Regions from separate parts of the Homo sapiens genome. Here all the other regions are linked to region 1. Evidence: promoter capture Hi-C in 16 types of primary human blood cells and fetal thymus (Javierre and others, 2016). All regions are on one chromosome and are shown on one strand. Each heading gives the region's core, a stretch centred on a gene start or on the middle of the fragment in contact. The rest is flanking DNA. Distances are from core to core; before and after follow the strand shown. Region 1 holds the start of FGF8 (fibroblast growth factor 8). Region 2 has its middle 12 kb from the start of LINC02681. Region 3 overlaps BTRC (beta-transducin repeat containing E3 ubiquitin protein ligase).

Region 1 (4,766 bases), core at 1,065-3,564:
GAGAACAATCTTGAACCTCTTTTTTAACATTTACAGACTTGCAACTCCTTTCAAACTCCACATCTGAAAAAAAGCTCGTTCTTTTTCTGTTTTATATCATTCTTCATTTTTCTTCTTAGCTCTTAAAATGCCTCACCTTTTTATTACATTTTAATAGAGTCTTCCCCTCTCCTTTCATGCTTGTTTAACGTGGTCATTATTTAAAGGTTTTTAAACTCACAATAATCGCTCTCTAAAAACAACACCAGCCGCCCAGAGGGCTTGCTTTTCTCTTGGTACATCCAGGACTCTGGAAATTGGCCCCGTTTCAAGGCAGGAATATTGAATGTTTTAGAAATCAATCAGTCCTCAGCCTCTCTGCCGGCAGTAGCTCTCCGCACTTGCCACCCCACAGGGAGCCGGGAGCCCTGCCCCAGCCGCCTGGGTTCCCCAGGGAATGGAGCAGGGAGAGCCCCCTTCCAAGCCCAGTTTCCACGTGTAAATTGACCCATCCGATTAAAGTATTTAAGGGTTCCCAGCAACCTCCTTTTCCAACTGGGAGAGTTGAGGGGATTTCTCTCCCTTCTCTTTCCCACTCTCCTTTTGTGGGCCCTGGCGACATATCCTCTTTCAAGCGCTTGCCTTAAACCTAGGCCCCCTCCCCCTGAACCCCCTGCCTCCACCTGCAGCTGGGGAGGAGTGTATGAAGGGGGGAGGTGTAAAGGGAGATTCCTAGATTCATTCATTTGCTGGGCAGGGAAGGGGGCACCTGTGGCCAAGTACTCCCCGAGGCCCCTTCCCTAGCCCTCTCTTCCCCAGCTGACCCTCAAGACACCTTTCTGCCTTAACTCCTTCCCTTCTGAGCTGGGGACCCTGCAGGCCCCCGGCCAGTGCAGTTGGGACTGGTGGTCCAGGCGCCGCGCATCCCACAAGCTACCTTCAGCGCGCCTTACCGAAGGGGTCGCCGTCCTCTGCCATGGCGTTGATGCGCTTGTTGGCCAGGACCTGCACGTGCTTCCCGCTGGTGCGGCTGTAGAGTTGGTAGGTCCGGATGAGGCGGCGGCTGAGCTGATCCGTCACCAGGCTCTGCTCCCTCACATGCTGTGTAAAATTAGGTGAGGACTGAACAGTTACCTTTAGGAAATTGAAAAATACACAATACACCATTATAATGCTACTCCGCCCAGGGGCCCGAGTGGCCCCATCACCCTGCGTCCCCCTCACTGCCCCAAGCCGCCAGCAGGTGCTGGGGGTTCCCCCAACATGCCAGCCCAGGCCACCATCCCCCACCCACGCAAGTCGGGCAGACCCAGCCCAGGATGAACGAGCCCCAGGGAGAAGCTGGACCCACCTGTTGGGAGACACCCTGGGGCTCCCGGCCAGCCCGGAACAGGGAAGCGAGCTCCCTGCCCAGCGCAGGGCCCCTGCCCGGGCCTTCCTAGAGGAGCAGGGCGCTTTTAAGTAGGGAGGCAGCCCTCCCCGACCCCTGACATTTATAAAGACAAATTTACGGAGCAAATGTTGAGAGTGCAGGGAACCTGGGCACCCGATCATTGGGCCAAATCGGCCACAAGCCTCCCCCGAGGGGCGCTGAGAGGGTCTCTGCTGCAGTCACCCGGCTTCCCCTGGCATCGAACATCCATCCCCTGGCCGCGGCTGCCCCCTTCCTCGGCGGCTGGGTGTTCCCTATGCCCCCAGCCGGCGAGGATGCATGGGGGACAGTGCTGGGCTCCGAGACCTTCGTTTCTATCCTGGCCACTCACTCGCTGTGTGACCTCAGGAGGGGTGCTACCTCTCTGTGCCTCAGCTCCCTCCTCGGGGTGGCTCGGGGCTGGGTTTCTAAGGTGCCCTCAGCCCTCCCGCGCCGGCCGCAGAGTCAGTCCCGGTGCCCCCGACCGGCGCTGCCCACCCGGGTCTCACACCGGCGCGCCCGGCCCCCGCCTCCGCGCACCCCTCCTCACCTGGGCTTGGAGGCAGAGGACCAGCAAGTGCAACAGCCTGTGGGAGACAAAAGCGGGCGGGAGAGAGAGGCGCGGGTGAGGCGAGGGGCGCGGGGGGCGGGTGGCGGGGCAGGGCGGCGCGGTACTCACAGGCAGCTCAGCGCGGAGCGGGGGCTGCCCATGGCGCGCGGCCCCGGGGCACCGAGAGCCCGGCGGGTCACGCCGTCCCGCGGGCCGCCGCGGGAGGACGCGCTGAGCAGGGCGCGAGCGGAGAGGGTGCGGGTGCGGGAGGCCGGCGGCGATCACGACGCGGCTCCGCGGGTCCCGTGGAACGTCGTGCTCGCCGCGCCGCACCGAATCGCTGTGCGCCGCTGCCGGAGCCGGTGGCCGCTGGCTGCTCGGGAGCCGGAGCGGGCGGGAGGGTCACGGGCTGGCGGGGTGGGTGGGGAGGTGGGAGGGCGGGGAGGGGTGGGGGCGGGGGGCGCCGCACCGGGCGCGAGGGGGGAGCGCGGGGCGGGCGGCGGGAGCCCGCAGCCCCCGGCTGGGAACTGGGGCCTGGATGCAGCCCGGGGCGGGGGCGGGGCGGCCGGGGAGGGGCGGCCGACGGGTTCGGGATTGAGGGTCTGGGCTAGGGGAGGGGTCTGGGGACCCGCGGGAGGGGCGGGGGCGGCCGGTCTGGGCGCCTCCCCCTATCCCCGGCCTGTCCCCTCGCGCGCTCCCCGGTCCCGGACGCGCGGGGATGGGGGCGCCTAGGGCTGCAAACTCTGCGGGCCGGGAGACCCCGAGCCTGGGCTTCCCCGACCGCCTGGAGCGCCCGAGTCTGGCGGGTCTGGGTCTCCGCCTCCGGGCCCAGCCGCTTCCGCCGCCGGCTACGCAGTGGTCTCCGAGCCACCTACTGTGTGTCCCGCCGGGCCCCTGGGAGCGGCCGCTAACCATGCAGCGAATGGCTGCGCACCCGGCCCTCGCGCAGTGCGTGCCGGTGCCACCCGGACCCCGCTCCCCTGTTTCGGCCGCGTGCCCCGTCCTGTCGGTCTCTCCAGTCTCCTTCACTCTCCCGAGGAGGCCCTGGGAGCCAGAAATGCCTCCCCCTCCCCCCATCCCATTATCACTATCACCCCTTCCCCTGTGCCCCTCACCACACACACACACACACACACACACACACACACACACACTAGCCTGAAGCTTGAGGAGCACCCCGAGCCACCTGTGTGGAAGAGAGAGTCCGGAGGTCCCTGGCAGGACCCACTGTCCCCGTACCTCAGCAGGCAGCAGGGGCAAAAAAACTCTCAGTAGCTTTTACTGGGGGAAGGGACTTCCATCCAGGCCACCCAGCCCTTTCCCCCTCAAAGCCCCACTCGTTTTTCATTTCACAGGTATTTACACACCTACTGTATTCTAGGCAGGGGCTGGTCAGCTGGGCTTGGGGCATAGGAGAAGGTAGGCACTTGTCTAAGCCTTTCCTAGCCCCCCACCTTGTGGCTTCCCCCCTGAGGTTTCTGGAAACCCTGAGCCCCCATGCTGCTTCTGTGGGAGCAGCCTGGGTGGACAGAGATGCTCTGGGACAGGTGCCTTGTGAGGAGCAGGTGATGCCCTACCAGACTGCTGTCTTCACTTACAACCTCCCCTTCCCCAGTGACCCTCCATTCCCCTGGGGGTAGGGCTGGAGGGTTTGGTGTGGTCCCAGGAAGCCATTAGGCCAAAATTAGCGGCAGCCCTAGTCCAGCAGCACAGCCAGGCCCTGCCTCCCTCCCTGCTCTGTGTCCCACCTTTCCCTGTGCCCCATCTTTCCAACTCCCAGCCATAAATGCAAACACTGAGCAATGGAGAGATGGGAAAACAGTTAGAGGGTGCGTTCCAAGATCTTATCCCTCCTCAGAGAAGTAGACTTCCAGAGCACACTTGCCATCCTCCTCCAGGAGTCTGTTCAGTGGGCTCTTGCCCACACAGACCTTGCCCACAAGGACCATGTCTTATGAGCTCAGAAATCACAGCTCGTGGCACAAGGCTGGGCAGAGCTGTTCTGCAATTAAGAGTTCGTTGAATGAATGAATGAATGAATGATGGGGGAAGTGGCTGAGCCTGTAGACTTCAGCCTATTTGCAACTTCCCCAGGAAGACCTGCCTTCACCTCCTCCCAACAGATTATCACCAGGAACACCACCAGTTAGTGAGCACTTGTATCTGCCACAGGCTTGGCAGGCACTGTCTCCTCTAAAGCCCATGGGGAGGTGGGTCCATCAGGCGGAGACAAGTCAGGTGGACACAAGTGGCCACAGCCCAGGCCAGCCCTTGCCTTCCCTGTGTTCTGTGTAAGGCCTGAGTCACAATTCATTGAGTGTCTGTTTCCCTCTCTGCACTGCTTCAAGTGGGCAAAGGTTATGTCTGTTTGCTTGTGGTCTTACCCTCATCCTTGTACACAGTAGGCCCTCAAGCATGTTTAGTTGCGTATGTCGATGAACAAATGATTGAATGGAGAGATGGAGAGCAGGCACTTCCTGTAAGAAATGGGCTTTCTCCCACCATGGACTCTCTGAACATCAGTGAGATAAGCAGAGCAGGGAGTAGGCCCCAGGCAGGGGTGAGGGTGACCCGCCCATCCAACAGTGTTTGCATGGTCCTGGGGTCACAGCCAGAGCCACTCTGGGTACCTGCCCCTCCCTGGAATGGGGGTAGGGGCAGAGCCCCTGGCTGAGACCAGCATTCAGCTCCAGCTGTGGAACCCCCAGAAGATTCTGAGGGCCCTGGGTTGACCCTCAATGGTCTTCAGCCACCCTTCTTCCTCTGCCCCAGAGAAGATGGGCGTCCTGGGATCTGAAGGGTCCGAGGTCAAGTTTCAGTCCTGTC
Region 2 (4,766 bases), core at 845-3,344, 500 kb before region 1:
CTGACCTGAAAGTGAGGACCCCTCACTTGACCCCTACATCATCCCCCTTTTCTTTCTAAGCATCCCTGGGCTTTAGAAAAATAGGGAGACTGAGAAGAAAACTTCTCTCTAGAAGGAGCCAGACTTTAGGGGCTGGAGGGAGAAGAGAAGAGGAAACCTGAACAGGAACCCCATCGTGCTTTTCTTTTTTTTTCTTTTTTTTTTTTTGAGACAGAGTCTCACTCTGTCGCCCAGGTTGGAGTGCAGTGGCGAGATCTCGGCTCACTGCAAGCTCCGCCTTCCGGGTTCACGCCATTCTCCTGCCTCAGCGTCCCGAGTAGCTGGGACTACAGGCGCCCGCCACCACGCCCGGCTAATTTTTTGTATTTTTAGTAGAGACGGGGTTTCACCGTGTTAGCCAGGATGGTCTCGATCTCCTGACCTCGTGATCCGCCTGCCTCGGCCTCCCAAAGTGCTGGGATTACAGGCGTGAGCCACCACGCCTGGCCACCCATCGTGCTTTTCAACATTTGTAAGCAGGCGGGGAATAAGGTAAGCTTGTGGACTCCGAGGCTCGTGTGCGCAGGCGCACATGCATGCAGGTACCCACATAGACCTGTGCTGACTTGAACACCTGCACTCACTGATTCACACGCGCATCCTCTTGAACACATGCTCACACAGCCCTCATTCACATGCCTCTTCCCTTGCCACGCACACATACTCATACTGGCATCCCTCCTAAACACATGTTCCCTCTTACCCTGCCACTCCCCAACCACACACACACACCCAGGAGAATCCTAGGAAGCTGTTCACAATAGTCCTGGATCTCCAGGAATGTGTGTGATTACCCACGATGTGTGTGTATCTATGTAAGATGCAATTCAGAGGGGTGATGTGTGGGTGGGTGGGGATGGGGGATACCCCAAGATGCGATGTGTGTCTGTAAGGGGATGAATGTAGTAAAGTGTGCATTCATTCATTCCATCATTCACTCAACCAGGTTATGGAGGCGCCACCATGTCCCAAGCACTGCACTTGGTTAAACAGTGAACCACATAGACACTATCACTGCTCACAATCTAATGAGCTCCAGAGAAGACAGGCCCTGAGGACATAGCTGGGAAATGCCGTGAAGGGGGAATGCCATGTACTATGGGAGCTGGGAACAGGCAAAGTGACCCAGAGAATTTCCCAAGAACAGGGTGTGTACCTTAGTGAATGAGTATAGACACTGGTCTGGGGGGCGCCTCTGGGATGTGAGCTGCATGTCAGCAGGTTGGAAGGTATTTTGGTGGACATGAGGATTGGGAGGTATAGGGTGTGATATGTGCATGTGTGTACAGCTGTGTGTGCATGGGAAGGAGTGAGGTGTGTATCATTATCAGAATTATTGGAGCAAACAGGCTCTTTATTATGTGTATAATTTCCCTGCGTCCCATCGGTTCCCTCTGTGCAGGGGGAGTTGGAGTGGAACTAAACCAAATAGGGGATTTAGCAACTTCGAGAGGCTGTGGCAGAGCTTAAAGTGCTGCTGATAGATGGTGGTGGCAGGCATGGGAGAGAAGAGGTGTCACCAGCAGTGGAGAGGGAACAGAAGAGGGAATTTTGATTGGGCTGGGGGCAGGGACCGGTGTCCGGTGCCCACTTTCAGAGAGGAGGTCTGGGGACAAGTGCAGGAACTGGCCGTTCTCTGCAATAACCTGAGAGAAGAAAAGGGATGGGGAGAGGGAATGCCCAATACAGCTCAGTCCTGCCTGGGGCAGGGAGTTCGGGCCTGAGGGCGTGGCTGCACAGCCTCTCTTCTTTTAGGGGTCTCATATATGGACCCTTATATATGAGGTCCATATATTTCGTGCATCTCATATGTGGAAAATGGCCCTGAAGTTTAGTGGAAATAAGTCATCTCAGTGTTGAGTTCAAATCTCAGCTCTGCAGTAGGACCTTGGGCAAGTTACTTCTCAGAGTAGTGCAATAATTGGAGTAATAATATTTACTTTGCAGGGTTGTGGTGATCAGTAGTAACATATAAAAACTTTGGCACCTTGGAAGCACTCAATGAATGATGATGTTTTATTAAAGATATTGGATCTACTTTGGGAGGCTGAGACAGGCAGATTGCCGGAGTCCAGGAGTTCAAGACCAGCCTGGGCAACATGGTAAAACCCTGTCTCTACAAAATAATAATAATAATAATAATAATAATAATTATAGGCCAGGCATGGTGGCTCACACCTGTAATCCCAACACTTTGGGAGGCCGAGGCAGGTGGATCACTTAAGGTCAGGAGTTCGAGACTAGCCTGACCAACATGGTGAAACTCCAACTCTACTAAAAATTACAAAATTAGCTGGGCATGGTGGTGGGTGCCTGTAATCCCAGCTACTTGGGAGGCTGAGGCAGGGGAATCACTTGAATCGCAGAGGCGGAGGTTACAGCGAGCCAAGATTGCACCATTGCACTCCTGCCGGAGCAACAAGAGTGAAACTCCATCTCAATAATAATAATACATAAATTAGCCGGGCATGGTGGTGTGCGCCTGTAGTCTGTTACTCAGGAGGCTGAGGTGGGAGGGTCGCTTGAGCCCTGGAGGTCGAGGCTGCAGTGAGCTGAGATTGCATCACTGCACTCCAGCCTGGGAGACAGAGACTCTGTCTCAAAAAAAGAAAAAAAAGGCTGGGCACGGTGACTCATGCTTGTAATCCCAGCACTTTGGGAGGCCAAGGGGGGCGGATCACCTGACGTCAGGAGTTTGAGACCAGCCTGGCCAACATGGTGAAACCCTGTCTCTACTAAAAATACAAAAGTTGCTGGGTGTGGTGGCGCATGCCTGTAATCCCAGCTACTCGGGAGGCTGAGGCAGGAGAATCGCTTGAACCCCGAAAGCAGAGGTTGCAGTGAGCCGAGGCCTCACCATTGCACTCCAGCCCAAGTGACAAGAGTGAAACTCTGTCTCAAAAAAAAGACATTGAATCTGTTCGTAGATCTACATCATCTACCTGCCAATCAATCTACACCTCTCCCACCCTGTAAGATTAAAACCCAGCCTGTTCCTACCCAGGCTTGTGGGTACAGCTCCTTCTCCCTGCTCTGGGGCTGGAGAAATGTTTCTGAATAACGGTGTCTGTTTCTCTGGCTGCCCCTCCAAGCATGTTTCTATCACCAGTTTCTTTTTTCTTCTCTCTTTTACTTTATTTTTTCCTGCTTAGCCAAGTAGAAAATAAGTGTAAAGAAGCAGGAGAAAGAAAACCTTTAATCCCACCACTCAGAGGCAATTATAAAAATTGCTAACATTTCTTCAGTGCCACTTTGTATCAAGTTTTGTATCCAAATGCTTCGGATGCTTTATTTCATTTCATCCTCACAATAACCCAGGGAAACTGGTACCATGATTATCCCCACTTAATAGAAGCTGAAGCATGGAAGGTACCTTGCCCAAGATCATACAGCTAGTAAGTGATATAAGAAGGATGTGACTTGGGCAAATTCCACTTTCCTTCCGGTCTTTTAGCTATTCTGTCTTCTGAGGACTTTCCTGCTGGCTTCCTATAGCCTCTTGCTGTCTTAGTTGAGCCAGATCTCTAGCCTTTACTTTACAAATATTTATTGCTCACCTCCTCTGTCTTGGGCATCTTGCTGGGCCCTGCTGGGAGGCAGGAGGCAGCTACAGAGAAGCTTTCCAGGGCCCAGCTGCCAGCAGTCCTTTAGAGCAAGGACCAGAGAACAAAATTATTGCCCAGGGATAAATCAATGCAGAAGAAGCAGCAAGAGATGCTGCCAGCAGGGGCTTGGGAAGGAGGTTCCCTGAGGATTCTACTCTCAGCTGAGCCCTCACCTAATGCCCACTTCTCCCACCAACTCCCATCACTGCATTCTATCTCTTCCTGGGGCATGGCCCTGATACCCAAAGGACCTGAGACCCTGGATCCCACAGCCCTGGGGCTGCAGCAGGCCTGCAAGCTCATTCTCAGGATCATTGTAGCAGCCAAAATGCCTTTCTGCCCTCCATCCAGCCAATCCACCAGTGACCATATGAATCACCTAAAGCTGACTCCATTTTGTCCCTGTTCTGCTCAAAAGCAATGGCACTCAGTTAAGTAAGAACTTCTCAGCTGGCTGGCATTCAGAGAGGGTCTTGCTGATCTAAACTCAAACTGCCTTTGCAGCCTTCTTTCTGCTGCCCACCAGCTCACAATTACACCCCAACTGGAAAACTCCTTCTCAACAGCTCTTCCTTATTAACACCCCACCTTTCCTTCAAGTCCTATAGGAAATGGCTCTTCCTACAAAATCTTTCCTGAACATCCTCCCCAAGCACAATGACCACCAGGCATATCTCTTCCTTTGAGGTCCATAGTCCTTTATACTCCTTCCTGGGCACTAATCTTAGGCTGCCTGATAGCATAATGTTTTTTATCTGTCAGGTTGTAGCATAATTATTTTTTAATTGAGGTATAACATGTACAGTAAAGTACAATAATCTTAAGTGAATTTTTTTTTTAAGATGGAGTCTTGCTCTGTGGTCCAGGCTGGAGTGCAGTGGCATGATCTCAGCTCACTATAACCTCCACCCCCTGAGTTCAAGCAATTCTCCTGCCTCAGCCTCCCGAGTAGCTGGGACTACAGGCGCACGCCACCATGCCCGGCTAATTTTTGTATTTTTGGTGGAGATGGGATTTCACCATGTTACCCAAGCTAGTCTCAAACTCCTGACCTCAGGTGATCTGCCTGCCTCAGCCTCCCAAAGTACTGGGATTACAGGCGTGAGCCACCATACCCAGCCC
Region 3 (4,766 bases), core at 1,468-3,967, 320 kb before region 1:
CGTGAGTGAAACTGTGGATAAGGGAGGACTACTGTAATGCTATTCATAGACTATTATTACTCAAGGACTACAAACACATTCTGCAATTTATTTACTATAATGAAACTTTCCATCTGAGTATTGGGAATCTGTTGTTCTGAGCAGTCAAGTTTGCTTAGGGTTGGTTTAAAGTTAAGCAGTAGAATATAACGTTAATTACATTTGATGGAATTTTCCCCCTAAAATTTATTTTTCACTTAACTTTTCTCCCATTTCTTAACATTTTATTATGGATTTAATTAATTAATTTTTTATTTTGACATAACTTCAGATTTATAGACAAGTGAAAAGAATAGCACAAAGAATCTCCTTACACCCTTTCACATAGATTTACCTAATGTTAACATGTTACCATATTTGTATTATATCTGCTTATAAATACATATACACACGCACATACATCCATTTATGTATTATTTTTTCTGAACAATTTGAAAGTTACAGACGTAATGTTCCATCCCCCCTAAATGTTTCAGTGCGTGTTTCCAGAAAAACAAAGACATTTTAATAAAAATAATCACAGTACAAATTATCAAAACCAGGAAATTGAATGGATAAACAAAACTGTGGCACATCCATACAGTAGATAATACTACTTGGCAATAAAAGGAAAAGAAATACTAGTATTTACAACAACATGAGTAGATCTCAGATATTTTATGCTAAGTGATAAAAGCCAGATTCAAAGGTTACGTACGATATAATTCCATTTATATGACATTCTGAAAATGGCACAAATTATTGAGCCAACAAATCAGTGATTTTCAGTGGGGAGAGGGTTGACTATTAAGGAGAATTTCAAGAGAATTTTGGGAGTGGTGGAATTTTTCATTTTTTAATGGCGGTGTTATACAACTGTATGTTTTTGTCAAAACTTACAGAGCTGTATACCAAAAAGGGTAAATTTTTCTGTATGTAAATTTTAATGGTGGGGAAACAATCAGGAAATTAATATTGATACAGTGTTATTAGTTCACCTACAGAACTTACTAAAAAGTTTCCAATTGCCTCAACAGTGTGTGCTATACCTCTTTAGTTTCCTTTAATCTGAAACAATTCCTTAGTCTATTTCATGGCCTTGACATTTCTTAGGTACAAACTAGTAACTTTATGGAATGAAATACTCATTTTTGGGTTAGCCTGATGTTTTCTTATAAGTAGATTTAAGTTTTGTGGTTTTGACAAGGATACCTCACAAGTGATGTGCTGTTTTCAGTACATCATATTAAAAGGCACATAATCTTAAGGTGGCATCTGCTGGATTTCTCCACTATGAGGTTACTCTTTTTTCATTGTAACTATCAAGTATCTTATAGAAAAAATATTTTGAGATTATGTGACCATCCTGTTAACTTGTCAAACTTTCACTCACTTATTGTAGTTTTAAATTTTACTTAGGTTTTTGAGATGGTGTCTTGCTGTGATGCCCAGACTGCTCTCAAACTCCTGGACTCAGGCAGTCCCTCTGCCTCCACCTCCTGAGCAGCTGGGATTACACGCATATGCCAAAGTACTAGGCTCACTTGCTAATTTTAGCACCCAATGATGATTCTTCCTTATATTAATCACTTATCCTTAAATAGAATTTATTGGATATAATTTAGCCTGATGATCTAGGAAAATTATGCACATAGCTTATTGGGAATCCTCATAGATAAAGATGCAAGGAATAACTGTGTTGCTGAGCTTTCCTGGGTGATGTTGGACAGGCTTTGAGAACTGTTGAGGTGACTACTTAGGTATACATGGCTATTTCATCATTACCCCTTACCCTCAAGACTGTAGACCTAGTAATCTCATTCACTGGCATTCTGCTTCTACTCTTTAGTATTAGGAGGGTTCCTAATCCTTGTTCCTGATATCATGACTGTTTAATGTCCCTACCTCTATTTTTTTGTAACAACATTATAAGTTGGATTTTTTGTTTGATTTGATTTCTCATGATGGATGGCCCAGAGTAAAAGTGTTGGGTTAATCTGTATTAAAAGAACATACCAATGTTTATGGGTTTCCCCCATTTTTTGTTTAAGAGTTATTTTTAACAATACCATTTAAATATTCTTTGCCCTAGTGGGATAGAAAGGGGAAAGGAACTCCTAAGAAGCTCTGTGTTCTATGTTAGGTTAGTAACACCCTTTAAGCTCCCTTTGTGTTTTCATTCTTTAGACATTTTCATAATACCCACCCAGTGGTTATCCATCTAAATCTGATAAAATAGAGGGTCAGTAAAAAGAAAATTGTGAGTATGGGCTAGTCAATACTCAGGCTGTTAAGGTTGAGATGACTATTTTTCACTTTATAATTCAGTATAGAGGAGTTTGCCAGCAATTGTGTATCAGCCCAAGTACCTGTATAATAAAAATGTGATTTATAGTATCTTTGGTATGACAAACTTCCAGCAAAAAGTAATTAGGCTCCAAGTTATATGATAACATTTCAAAAAACATAATTAATTTTGAAATACAGGATCTTACACTGAATTAAACAGGTTTAGTTTATCTGATCTTTTTATTTATTTATTTAAAGGAGGAATTTCATGACCTGAAAGAGAGTTACTTGCAAATTCTAAGTTTATAATTGGATACTGGCTTAAGCTTCTATTATATAAGGCATTTAATTTTGGTATTTAAAACATTGATCTTTACATTTAAAAAAAAAAAGTTAAACATACAACTTGATGTTATGGGGTAAATAAATGTTGACCTTTCCCTTTCTTTGTTTGATACTCTTACATAGCATGTATTGCCAGTCGCCTCATTTGTCAAGCTTTGTAGTCATTAATTCAATTATATCCTTCCTCCATTTTTTGGTAGATGATCTCCATTCCTTTTTTTCCAAACAGGGAGGAAAAGAAGTTAGAACTCTGAAGTTCTTGAGTCTCTGTCCCTTTCTTTGTAATATAGCATGCTTTTTCTTTAATTTTAGGGACTTTTACAAGGGATCATCACAAATGTAAAATATCAAGTTAAACCTCATAAGATATTTCTGCCCAAAAGAAACACATTAGGGTACTGGCCTGTCAGGCTTACTAAAGGTGACACACAGGTGTCAGCCACAGAGGTGAAAGGGCCTCAGAATGACACAGTACGTTTTTTATCTCTCAGTATCTTTCAAAATGTAATATCTAATAGAAACCAAAAAAGTGAAATTTACATGTAGGTTTAGAACACAGTAATGATTGTATATTAATAATTTCATGCTTGTATGAAAATTTTCAGATAAACTCTCATGTTAAAAATAATTTCTGAACCTACAAATAAACTAACCCTCCTGTTAGAACGTTATGACTATATGTAATGTAAGGAATATATTAACTGTAAGTTTTTTGTTGTTGTTGTTTTGAGACGGAACCTTGCTCTGTCACTCAGGCTGGAGTGCAGTGGTGTGATCTCGGCTCACTGCAACCTCGGCCTCCTGGGTTCAGGCGATTCTCCTGCCTCAGACTCTCGAGTAGCTGGGATTACAGGCACCCACCACCACACTTGGCTAATTTTGTATTTTTAGTAGAGACACAGTTTCAGCATGTTGGCCAGGCTGGTCTCAAACTCCTGACCTCAGATGATCTGCCCGCCTTGGCCTCCCAAAGTGCTGGGATTACAAGTGTGAGCCACCGCACCTAGCACAACTGCAGGGTTTTAAATATTAATGTTATTAATGTTACTAATGTTGTTGCTGAAAATGGAACTCAAATAATATGTAATTTGGATTTTCTGTATTTTGCCTTGTAGATAGTGATTTACATATATTGACTAGCAGATTTTTAGTACTTATGAACTCATTTTCAGTTGGATTGTTGTTTTTTTCCCCCTCCTAAGTATATAAAAACCCCACTGACATTTTAGGGCCTCTAGCTGCTGTTTGAGGTGACAGTGCCAAGGAATGGACTCTAATCCTAAACTACTGAGTAAATGTTTTTTTAAGTCCTATGCTACTTTTATCAAAGAAAATAAAATCAAATCTGAGAAGAGGGGGAAGAGAAATAACTATTTTTAGGACCCAGACTTGGAGATCTGTGCCAACCAAACATCTACTATAATCGAGAGAAGGTAATAATCATGGTTTTAGTTGTCATCAGCTAAGTGTGGGCTGGAACTTTCTTGTATCCAGTGTCAACCTGTGTCAAAGTGCAAGCTAGAGATCTAATGAATATGATCTCCTACACAATGCTTAAAGATACATGAAATACTTCCCATCTAAATCCTTACATAATTTATTTATATACATGGGCATATGTTTTCTTTTACATATGTGTATATCTGTATGTATACAAATCTTCAAGTGAATAATTGTATAAATATATGTATGTTCTAACTTACAGAATTAGAAATGTAATTCAGTTTACTCCCAAAGGATAAGATTGAAGATAATGAGAACTGAATTAAAGCTTACTTTCTTTCACAGAATTCCTCAGAGAGAGAAGACTGTAATAATGGCGAACCCCCTAGGAAGATAATACCAGAGAAGAATTCACTTAGACAGGTATGAAATTCAGCCTTACTTAAAATAAAAAGCTACCAACAGCAAAACAAAAGACAGGAGGAAACCCTTGATTTGCCATTCTTTAAGCACTGGAGCTTATATTAAGAGTACTCGGACGTTGGCCTGGCCATAGCCATCACTTTCAATCAGGTGACATGGTTTTCCCAGTTATTTAAAAAACATTCTAGGTATACATGTACAGGACAGCTGGTTGGCATTTTTAAAAAAGTATAAAAACAGATCTGCCT

What was found. Contacts are between HindIII fragments. The CHiCAGO score rates a contact against its expected background, and 5 or more counts as called.
Region 2: a fragment that was not itself captured here is called in contact with the fragment with the promoter of FGF8 in region 1 in 1 of 17 cell types (endothelial precursors); the score reaches 6.9 in endothelial precursors.
Region 3: a fragment that was not itself captured here is called in contact with the fragment with the promoter of FGF8 in region 1 in 1 of 17 cell types (megakaryocytes); the score reaches 5.4 in megakaryocytes.

Annotation. Positions count from the first base shown.
Region 1 is chr10:101,773,800-101,778,565 of GRCh38, forward strand. FGF8 (fibroblast growth factor 8) reads right to left here and starts at 2,315. Exons shown (of 6, transcript NM_033163.5): 1 at 2,070-2,315; 2 at 1,941-1,977; 3 at 1,331-1,417; 4 at 933-1,113. The coding sequence starts at 2,101. RefSeq lists enhancers at 482-1,220, 1,221-1,959, 2,396-3,214 and a promoter at 2,120-4,766. The HindIII fragment of the contact is 3,344 bases long and covers 1-3,102 here.
Region 2 is chr10:101,272,848-101,277,613 of GRCh38, forward strand. No RefSeq gene overlaps it. Among named protein-coding and RNA genes, the nearest start is that of LINC02681, 12 kb to the left of the region's middle. The HindIII fragment of the contact is 3,121 bases long and covers 535-3,655 here.
Region 3 is chr10:101,457,541-101,462,306 of GRCh38, forward strand. It overlaps BTRC (beta-transducin repeat containing E3 ubiquitin protein ligase), which reads left to right. Exons shown (of 15, transcript NM_033637.4): 3 at 4,441-4,518. Among named protein-coding and RNA genes, the nearest start is that of BTRC, 110 kb to the left of the region's middle. The HindIII fragment of the contact is 172 bases long and covers 2,632-2,803 here.